Regions from separate parts of the Homo sapiens genome. Here all the other regions are linked to region 2. Evidence: promoter capture Hi-C in human tissues and cell types (Jung and others, 2019). All regions are on one chromosome and are shown on one strand. Each heading gives the region's core, a stretch centred on a gene start or on the middle of the fragment in contact. The rest is flanking DNA. Distances are from core to core; before and after follow the strand shown.

Evidence for each region. Contacts are between HindIII fragments. The study calls those that stand out against the background at their distance.
Region 1: a fragment that was not itself captured here is called in contact with the fragment with the promoter of LY86 in region 2 in 1 of the 25 tissues and cell types used here (aorta).
Region 3: a fragment that was not itself captured here is called in contact with the fragment with the promoter of LY86 in region 2 in 2 of the 25 tissues and cell types used here (lymphoblastoid cells and thymus).

The regions. Positions count from the first base shown.
Region 1 is chr6:6,237,608-6,240,698 of GRCh38, reverse strand. All of the region lies in intron 6 of F13A1 (coagulation factor XIII A chain), which reads left to right. Among named protein-coding and RNA genes, the nearest start is that of MIR7853, 70 kb to the right of the region's middle. The HindIII fragment of the contact is 3,988 bases long and covers 1-3,091 here.
Region 2 is chr6:6,586,975-6,590,446 of GRCh38, reverse strand. LY86 (lymphocyte antigen 86) reads right to left here and starts at 1,727. Exons shown (of 5, transcript NM_004271.4): 1 at 1,577-1,727. The coding sequence starts at 1,712. The region is part of intron 1 of LY86-AS1 (LY86 antisense RNA 1); the gene reads left to right. RefSeq lists enhancers at 3,201-3,330, 3,341-3,430. The HindIII fragment of the contact is 16,234 bases long and covers 1-3,472 here.
Region 3 is chr6:6,087,208-6,090,361 of GRCh38, reverse strand. No RefSeq gene overlaps it. Among named protein-coding and RNA genes, the nearest start is that of MIR5683, 81 kb to the left of the region's middle. The HindIII fragment of the contact is 5,129 bases long and covers 1-3,154 here.

The DNA.
Region 1 (3,091 bases), core at 353-2,852, 350 kb after region 2:
AGCCAGTGGGAAAATAGAATTTATCTAACAGAAAGTATCTTCATAGCCACTTTTGAGAAATTGCATAAATCCATTCCATAAATAACCAAAGTGCAGGTGGAGAGACTGAGGCATCAGGAAGTTAAGTAACTTTATCCAAGGTTGCTGGTAGCACTGGGGGTGGGTCATGAGTTGCCTGGCCCCACTAATTCACACACAATGTTCTATTTCCCCTGGATTTGTCCTCTGTCTGTCCTCTCTCCCGGTCACATGAGCTCCTTGGATACAGATATAATGCCTTTTACATGTCCTGTCTGATTCAATCCTTCTCTTTCAGGTGGGGGCAGTGGGGGGACGATGAACTGCTCAGACATTATCTTTTTTCTCTTATGGTAAAAGCCAGCAGTGTAATGAAGTTTCCATTTGTGGTCAAACAGCTTGGTTTCTCAATTATTAAGCTTACATTTCTTATGCCTCTTCACCCCATATTTTTGGAGAAAAACAGACATTTATTACAAGGCATCTCTCGAATGTGATAATCATGGGCAATCTAAATGTCTGCTTTCCCTGAATTGCTTCCTGGAATGAGGTTTCAATGCTGCAGCTATTCTGTAATCACACAGGCTATTTCTGAAGCACAGGGATGCTTTACAGCACTCCCTCCAAGCTGAGCGGTTGGTGCTGCTCTGGTCTCCTGGGGCCAGCATCCCCAGGATAGATGGATAGCAAAGGAGCAAAGCAAAGCCAGCTCAGCCCTTTAGGATATGCACAGCTTCATGCACCTTGGGTTCCCTTCATACCCTCTTTCTTTCCCCTGTCTCCTCCTGTTACATCCTTCCCTTTTTCCTCCTCCTGCTCTGCATTTTTCCCTCTCTCATACGTCCATTCCTTTAATTCAGATATTTTTGAGGCCTGTTCTATACCAGCTCTACACCATGCAGCAGTGGTATGGCAATGAAAACAGCAGGCCACACTTGGAGACCTTGAAATCTCAGTTTTCTCTCTCAGTCCACATTTGCTTATTTCTCTCATTATTGTCAATTAGTAAAATATGTTTTGGCCAAATGAGCATCCTCAGATACTGAGAGAGACAAGGTTAATAATTTCCTGTGGTCATAGTTATCATGAAAAATGAGTCTAATTACCCACCCCTATCAGAGCTTGGGTCATATATATACCAAAGGACATTCATATATCGGTAGTTATATGCTTCATACTATTCATTACAGTTAGTTACAGGATTTTTTTTAATTGAAGTAAAATTTACATACAGTAAAAAATCATGGATATTAAATGCACAATTCAATGACTTTTGATTGGGGTAATCACCACCCCAATCAAAATATAGACATTTCCACAAGCTCAGAAGTTTCCCTCGTGCTTCTTCCGGTCAATCCCCACCTCATTAGGTAGCTACTATTCTGATTTCTTGCAATGGGTTACATTTGTCTATTCTTCAACTTTACATAAATGGATTCACACAGTAGAAATAGGGCTGGCTTCTCTTACTCCATCAACTGTTACATGTGTTTTCAATGCTTTCCTTACCATTACTAAGAAGTATTTTATTGCATTGTATATCACAATTTGTCTATCCATTCACCTATTGATGCATGTTTAAGATGTTTCCAATGTGAAGCTATTATGAATACAGTTACTATAAACATTCTTGTACAAGTGTTTTTGTGTATGTGTTTTCATATATCTGGAGTAAATAGCTAAAGAGAGCATGCCTAGATCAGAAAGTATGTATATATTTAACTTTATAAGAATTGGCTAGTTTTCCAAAGCAGCTCTACTGTTTTACATTCCTGCCAGCAACATATGAGAGTTCCAGTTTCTCCACAGCTTCACCTATTCTTGATGTCTTGAACCTTTTTAATTTTAACCAATCAAATGGGTATATAGTGGCATTTCATTGTAGTTTTAATTTTCATTTCCCTGATGGCTAATGATTTTGAGCATCTTTTAATACATTTATTGGCTATATATATATATATATATGCAGCATGTTTTCAAGTCTACTGATTTTCTTATTCAGTCATTTGTACTTTTATTATTAAGTTATAGTTGCTCTGTGTATATACCTCTCATTTGTCAGATATGTATAGAACATATTTTCCCCAAACTATGGCTTGTAGTTATATTTTATAAATGGCATATTTTAAGTAACAAAAGTTTTTAAATTTTATAAAATCAAATTTTTTCATTGTTCTTTAATAGTCATCCCCAGTAAATGTTCTTTCCACATGAAGACTTTCACATGAATCACTATTTGCCCATGTTTGCCACTATTTCTCCTATGTTTTATTTTTGAAGCTTTATAATTTGAACTTTTACATTGTGGTCTATGATCCATCTTGAGTTACCTTTTGGTGTTGTGTGAGGTAGGGATCAAATCTTATTTTTTCCAAATTTATCCATTTGTTCCACCAGCATTTGTTGAAAAGACTGTTGGAAAGGCTTTCATTCGTTGCAAAGAGTTTCTTTGTTGAAAAGACTGTCATTTTCTTCATTGAATTGCTTTGGTGACTTTGTCAGAAATCAAATGTCTACATGAGTATGGATCTATTTCTAGACTCTCTTTTCTGTTTCATTAGTTTATATGTATGTCCTTATGACAATACCACACTGCCTTTTTTACTGCTTTCCTCTAGTAAACCTTCAAATCAGGTAGTCATTCATTTTTGTTCTTCTTTTTCAATATTATGTTTAATTATTCTAGATCCTTTGTATTGCTATGTAAATTTTGGAAACAACTTTCCAGCTTTAATGAAGTGCCTATTGGCATTCTAACTGTCCCGTTGTCTTGATCTATTAAAGAAGTATTAAAATGTAGCCTATAGCCATCTTCCAGTGATAGCACATCCATTCATTCAACAGAACTTATTGAGTTCCCACTCTGTGCTAGCCCTGGGAATATAAAGTCAAAACAGCATAGTGCCTTCCTTCCTTCTGTGAACATAAAGTCTGGGAAAAGAACAAGGACAGTCTAACCAATGACACAATACAATGTGATAAATGGATAGTACTATGCAAAGAGTACTATGTGATCAAAGAGTAAGGACATCCAAATCAAGGTGATAAGTAAAGATTCCCAGGGTGAAACCAG
Region 2 (3,472 bases), core at 478-2,977:
ATAGAAAATTCCAGAAATAATTCATTAGTTTGACATTGAGCATCCTCCTGAGTAGCATGATGAAATCTCGTGCTGCCCAGCCCACCAGGAACACGAATTGTCTAGAATATCCATGTTGTCTCTACTACCGGCCTGTCCGTCACTTAGTAGCTGTCTCATTTATTGGGTCCAAAAACCATAGTATATGTAGGGTTCAAAACGATCTATGATTTCAGGCATCCACTGGGAGTCTTGGAACGTATTCCTAGCAGACTGGGGGGGGACTACGGTATCTTAGAATGTGACTGTATGTGGAGATAGGGTCTTTTTTTTTTTTTTTTTTTTTTTTAAGACAGAGTTTCGCTCCTCTTGCCCAGGCTGGAGTACAATGGCACGATCTTGGCTCACTGCAACCTCCACCTCCTGGGTTCAAGCAATTCTGCCTCAGCCTCCCAAGTAGCTGGGATTACAGGCGCGTGCCACCATGCCCAGCTAATTTTATATTTTTAGTAGAAACAGGGTTTTTCCATGTTGGTCAGGCTGGTCTTGAATGCTTGACCTCAAGTGGTTCACCCTCCTCAGCCTCCCAAAGTGCTGGGATTACAGGTGTGAGCCATCATGCCCTGCTGGAGATAGGGTCTTTAAAGAGCTGATTAAGCTAAAGTGAGGCCATGGAGGTGGGCCCTAATCTGATATGATTGTGTACTTATAAGAAGAGGAGATGAGGACACAGATGTACACAGAGGGAAGAGCACATGAGGAGACAGGGAGAAGATGCCACCTAGAAGCAAAGAAGAGAGGTCTCAGGAGAAACCAGCCCAGCTTCCAGAGCTGTGAGGAAATAAATCTGTTATTTAAGTCCCCAGCCTGTGGTGGTTTGTTATGGCAGCCCTAGCTGACTAAGACACAGCCCGATTGGTTGGTTCTGACACTTCTTACCACAGTTCACTGCATTCTCTTCACTGAATTGCAATTATCTGTTGGCGTATTGGGTTGGCCCGCTGGGGTGACAGGCCTGGCATATGCACTTTTATTATCTCTAGCACTGAGAAACCCTGGCATTGATAGCTGCATGCGAAGTGCTTGCTGAATTCATGAGAGCTACTGCTGCAGTGAAAGCTCTGAAAGTGTCCAGAGAGGGACAGGAATCTTCTCTTTGGGCAGAAGTGATCTTTTCACTTCACTTGCAAAGTACATCAGATGGAAAGGTAGCCCAGGTGTACGGTGTTGAGGAAGGGCCTACTGGAAGCTGCTTTTCCTAATTTTCAGCTGGTGAGGTTTGATGATTTGGTAGACTCACTGATCATTTTGTTCTTTTTTGGGTTCTGTGGTGTTAGTAAATGGCTATATTTAGATTCAATTTCTCTTTCTTGTACTCTTTGTTGTTCTGCCATTCTCTTCCGCTCCCAGTCCTGGCCCCACCGCTCCTTCTTCCAAAAGCTCCCAGTGGCCCTCCCAGACCTGCTGCAGGTGGAGAAAGTGTTCAGCTGCTGGTCCCCTCTCCCCTCCCACCCCAACTCCAACTGAGCACTAGCGGCTCACATCTGTGGGCCTTGCTTTCCCCATAAACACACATGGGTGTACTGCAAGGGCTTACCGCAACTCTGGTAGAGCACTTCCAAGCCGCTGTCGCTACAGACCACGTGTGTGGGCCAGGCTTTCCCACCGCCGCCTCCACTGCAGCTGGGAAAAATCAGAGTCCAGAGGAAGAGAGTGGCTGTGAAACCCTTCATGGTGGGGGCCTGTATGGGACACACAGAAAAATAACCGGCCAATAAAAAGCCTGTAAAATTTCTTCCTCTCCCCTCACCAAGGCAGTTGGATGTTCAGTTTCACTTCTCAAATTTTAGACTCGCTGGGAACCACAGTCAGAAGTAAAAGGCTGAGAGCAGAGGCATTTGAATACTGTTCCCCCAGGACCTTGAATCTACAGGTGTGGCTGGTCTGGTCTGGGGTAGGATGCGTGCTGACTTTCTGCTTTCACAGGGAGAGGGTCAGTAGTGATGCGTGAACTTACCTCTTGGGGGCCCCTCAGAACAGCCTCCACCCCCAGGTGAGGCTGTAAACTTGGGAAAGACAAAGCGCAGGCCACCATCTGTTTCCCATCTCCAGCCCCCGAGTCTCTGCAGGCTCTTGATGCAGGCTGTGTATGGACCCAGGGACCTGGCTGCAGCCAGCAGGCAGCAGTTGATAGCACGAGGGCTACAGAATGACATTTGGAATCTGGAATGAGGCTTTGGCCCTATTGTCACTTTCCTCTCCTCTGGCTTTGGCTCTGCTCTTAGGTTTGGGATTTTAGCAGTGAATTGTCCAGCTGCAGAACAGACCTTGTTTTGGGAGCTGCAGATGTGGTCTCTGGAGATGAGGCAGAGGCAATAGCCCTGAGAAGTGAGCCGTGTTCTATTTCTGGGTTTGGCTTGGTAGAAAAAGTAGGAAGGGTGGGGAGGTGGGGCCACCCTTAAGGAGGCTGGTTTGCTGGTTTTGGTGTTAGTGGGATCATTGACATCACATCTCACTTTCTCTTCAAAGCCAAGATTCTGTCTTCCTTCTTCCATGTATCTCTATTCTGCTGCAGGACAGCAAGGTTTCTCAGTCTTGATTCCTCAACCCCGCCCCAGCTTCACCTTAATGTAAGAGGACCAGAGTCAGTGCCAAGGTCAGCAGATTTCAGGAGCAATAGAAAACACTATTTTCCCTGGGAGGAACAGCATTTTTCTGAATGCACTAGGTAAATTTACTATTTCTGCTGATGGCTAAGCAAAAATTAGAGTTAGCTCAAAACTTTTTTTGAAATAGGTGGAACATAATTACCAATAAATTAATTGGTAAATAATTTGGATTTCTTGATAGACATCAGAGAGTGGTCATTTGGAGAAGGAACAGTTGTGGATTGATTATTTTTAGGTACCTCTGCAAATAAGTTCAGTGATGATGGCTTTCAACAGCAGTTCTCAAAGTGCGGCCTGGGAAGATGACAGCCTCAGCTTCCACTGGGGGCTTGTTAGAGATGCAAATTCTGGGCTACTCAAGACCTATTAAATCAGAAACTCTGGGGGGCGGGACTCACCATTCTGGATTTTCACAAGCCCTCCAGGTGTGCCTGATGCAGTCTCAAGTTTGAGAACTGCTGGCTTTTACAGAACATAAAGCGAAGGTTGAGCCCCAAGGGAGTGGTGGGAAGTTGCTCTAAGAAGAGACAAGGTGGCCCCTCTGGCCTGTGTGAGCGGAAGGCAGCTGCGCTGTGAGCAAGATCTCGGGAGATGAGAGTCTGAAGCTTATGGTGAGAGCAGCGGCCCTGGTGGAAGCGTGGTAGCCCCTAGAAGGTCCAGGATGGAACACAGAAGCTTTCCCTTGGGATATGTGAGTGCTCCAGCAGTTGTAAAGAGAGCTCTGAACATATGTGAGTGAGGAGAGCAATTGAGGGTGAGAACTTCCTTCCCTGCAAAGTGCGTCATGATTGACACTGGAGGAGGAGTCCAGGAGTGCAGGGCAG
Region 3 (3,154 bases), core at 300-2,799, 500 kb after region 2:
AACATGAAATGTACTACTTGTAACCAAAAAGGCACTCATTAGAAAAAGGAAACTTATCACCAAAGGCACATGGTGGTCTTGGTCCACACTACCTTAGTGTTGTGGTTGCACTGTTGTTGAGAGAACTCCAAGACTTACGTTTCAATGTTGAATGGACATACTAATTCATGTCCACTTCTTTCAAAAACTCTAACAATTTATTTGGTTGGGCCAGTTTTATAGTTTCTACAAATCTGTAAAGCTTTCATTCAAAAAAATCCCTGGCCATTTATTCATTTGACAATCAGGCATGAGATACAATTTCTATCCTTATTACCAGCAAGCTAGCAGGAGATGAGAATGTAAACTATTTTCAGTTAGGCCAGACATTCCTATAGAGGTTGCTGTTCTTCCCACTTTGACTAGTGTCAGAAGCGTGCACTGGAAGTCCCTAAAGTAATTGTCCAGAGGACGGCAGGGTCTAAAAACAGCCTTATCTAATAGAAACGTAATGCAAGCCACATGTGATTTGGAATACTCTAGTAGCCACATTAAAAACAAGTAAAAAGAAACTGATAAAAATCATGCTCTTAATATATCTTAAATGACCACACACTTAGTGAATTAAAACCAGATAAATGTATTATCTGGAGTCCAAAATGGGTCTCATTGAGCTAAAATCAAGGCATTGATGGGGCCATGTTCTTTTCTGGAGACTCTAGAGGAGAACTTGTTTTCTTGCCTTTTCCAGCCTACAGAGGCTGCCCACTTTCCTTTGCTTGTATTCAAAGCCAGTAATAGCTGGTGGAGTCTTTCTTAGATCACATCACTTCGATGCTGACTCCTCTGCCTCCCTCTTCCACATTTAAGAACTTTTGATGACATCGGGCCCACCCAGATAATCCAAGATGATCTTATTTGAGGTCAACTGATTAGCAACCTTAATTCCACCTGCAACCTGCATTCTCTTTTGCCACATAATAAAACGTAGTCACACGTTCTGGGGATTAGGACATGCACATCACAGGGAGAGGGGTCTTATTCTGCCTTCTACAGTCAATATAAAAATTATTAATAAAATATTATTATTTTTTGTTCTTCTCACTTCAAATTCTTCAAAATTCTGTGTGTATTTTGCACTTACAGCACATCCCAATTTCAAGGACAGTCACATTTGAAGGACTCAATAGCCACATGTGGCCAGTAGCTACCAAAATGGATAGCAGAGATTTAAAGCAAGGGTTCTCAACTTGGGCTGTACATTGGAATCCTCTCAGGAGGAGCTTTTTAAAATCCTGACTCTCAACCCATACACCATTCCAAAGAAGTCAGAACTTAGGCATAAGTAATTTTTTAAAGCTCCTCAGATGATTCCAATCTGTAGCCAAGATTGAGACCCTTCAGTGTAGGGCAAGAATAAACCTCATTCTTTCTATGAACTTGAAACACTTCCCCAGTCTCTCTCTCGCTCTCTTTTTTTTTCTGTCTCTCTCTCTCTCTCGAATCAGAGCCATTTCCCTGGTGGCAAAGGCTTAGTGGTTGTGCCATGCTAGGCATTTAAAATGGTAGGTGCTCTGTGTGTGTGTGTGTGTGTGTGTGTATACAAAGGTGTGTGCATTTAGCTCTCAGCATTCGAAAACATACTCAGTGTAACTTCTGAGTCTTCTGACTCACTCTGAGATCCATTCACTCACATCCTCTTATTCACTAGATATTTAGTAAATACCTGTTGTGTGCCAGGAAATACACCAGAACGTTCTGGCTCTTTCTGTCCATGGTTTGTGAGAGAAGCTGCTATGGAAGAATTTTAGGGTCAAAATTTTTATCCCATGCTGCCTGATGACTCTTCTGGGGACACAGACACACACACACACAGACACATAAATGCATATTTTTTATAACACTGGATAGACATTGCTGCAGTTAGATCTGAGCAAATCCATTCTATTCCAGAAAAACAACCCAGGATGAACTCCTTTTCCAAGAGAAACTGTGACATCTTAACAGTGACTTTGCCGACAAGTGCAAATGATGCAATGGTCCCTGAACCCTGAAACAGCAAACTCCCTTGCACCTCTTGCAAACCTTTCCTGTCACCTATTTGCCTCCCTTTCTGTCACACTTTTCTCTCTGCTTTGAATATTCCTGGGTCTCTCCTCTTCCTTATGAAGACGGTCCTCCATGACCCGGTCTGCCTACCTTCTACTCTCCTGCTTTCTTAGGTCACTAGATCATGTCTGTTACCCACAGTCTCAGTTCCACTTCAACTGTCCCCTTCTGAAAGTTAGTACAAATCCCACCAAATGCTCACTACCAGAGTGTTCCTCATAAACAGAAAACCCTTCTCCCTCTCTTTCTTCTCTCCACACTTATTACACACAGAATAAAATCTAAGGTCTTTAACATCCTCCACGATGTTAGGTTTGTTTCTCTGGAAAAAAGCATTGTTTCATGGAAAAGAAGAAAAACTGATATATATTTTAGGTGCTTTCACTTGATGAGTCAACTTCTCTCCATTTTTCAAAGTATTCATTGGTCTGTTTGCATACTGATGTGACCCAATTCCATTTGCACTTTCCTCTCCCACTTCCTACCCCCAACTAGACTCTCTTATTCCCTGAAGAGAAGAGATTCTGCATTTTGCCCAGGTTGAGTTCACTTCCTTCACATCATGAGTAGGCACTTTACCCACATTTCCTGGCTCTTCTCGACAAGTCTCACAGGACCTTCCTACACTAATCCATCTGAGGATGCAATCTGATTGGTGTATTTAAGTCTGCGTCTTGACCTCTGTATTAGTCAGTATTCTCCAGAGAAACAGAACCAATGGGATGTATATGTGTGTATATATAGAGAAAGAGATTTATTTTAAGGAATTGGTTCCCATGATTATGGAAGCTGGGAAGTTTAAAATCTGCAGAGTGGGCAGGTGGGCTGAAGACCCAGGGAAGAGCCAAGGTTGCCATTCCAGTTTGAAAGCTATCTACTGACAGAATCCCCTCTTCTTCCTGGGAGGGCAATCTTTTGTCCTATCCAGGACTTCAACTGATGGGATGAGGCCCACCCGCAATATAGAAGGCAACGTGCTTTACTGAGTCTACTAATTTAAATGTTAATCTCATCCAAAAACATATTTTCACAGAAACATTCATAATGTTTAAATAAATATCTGGGT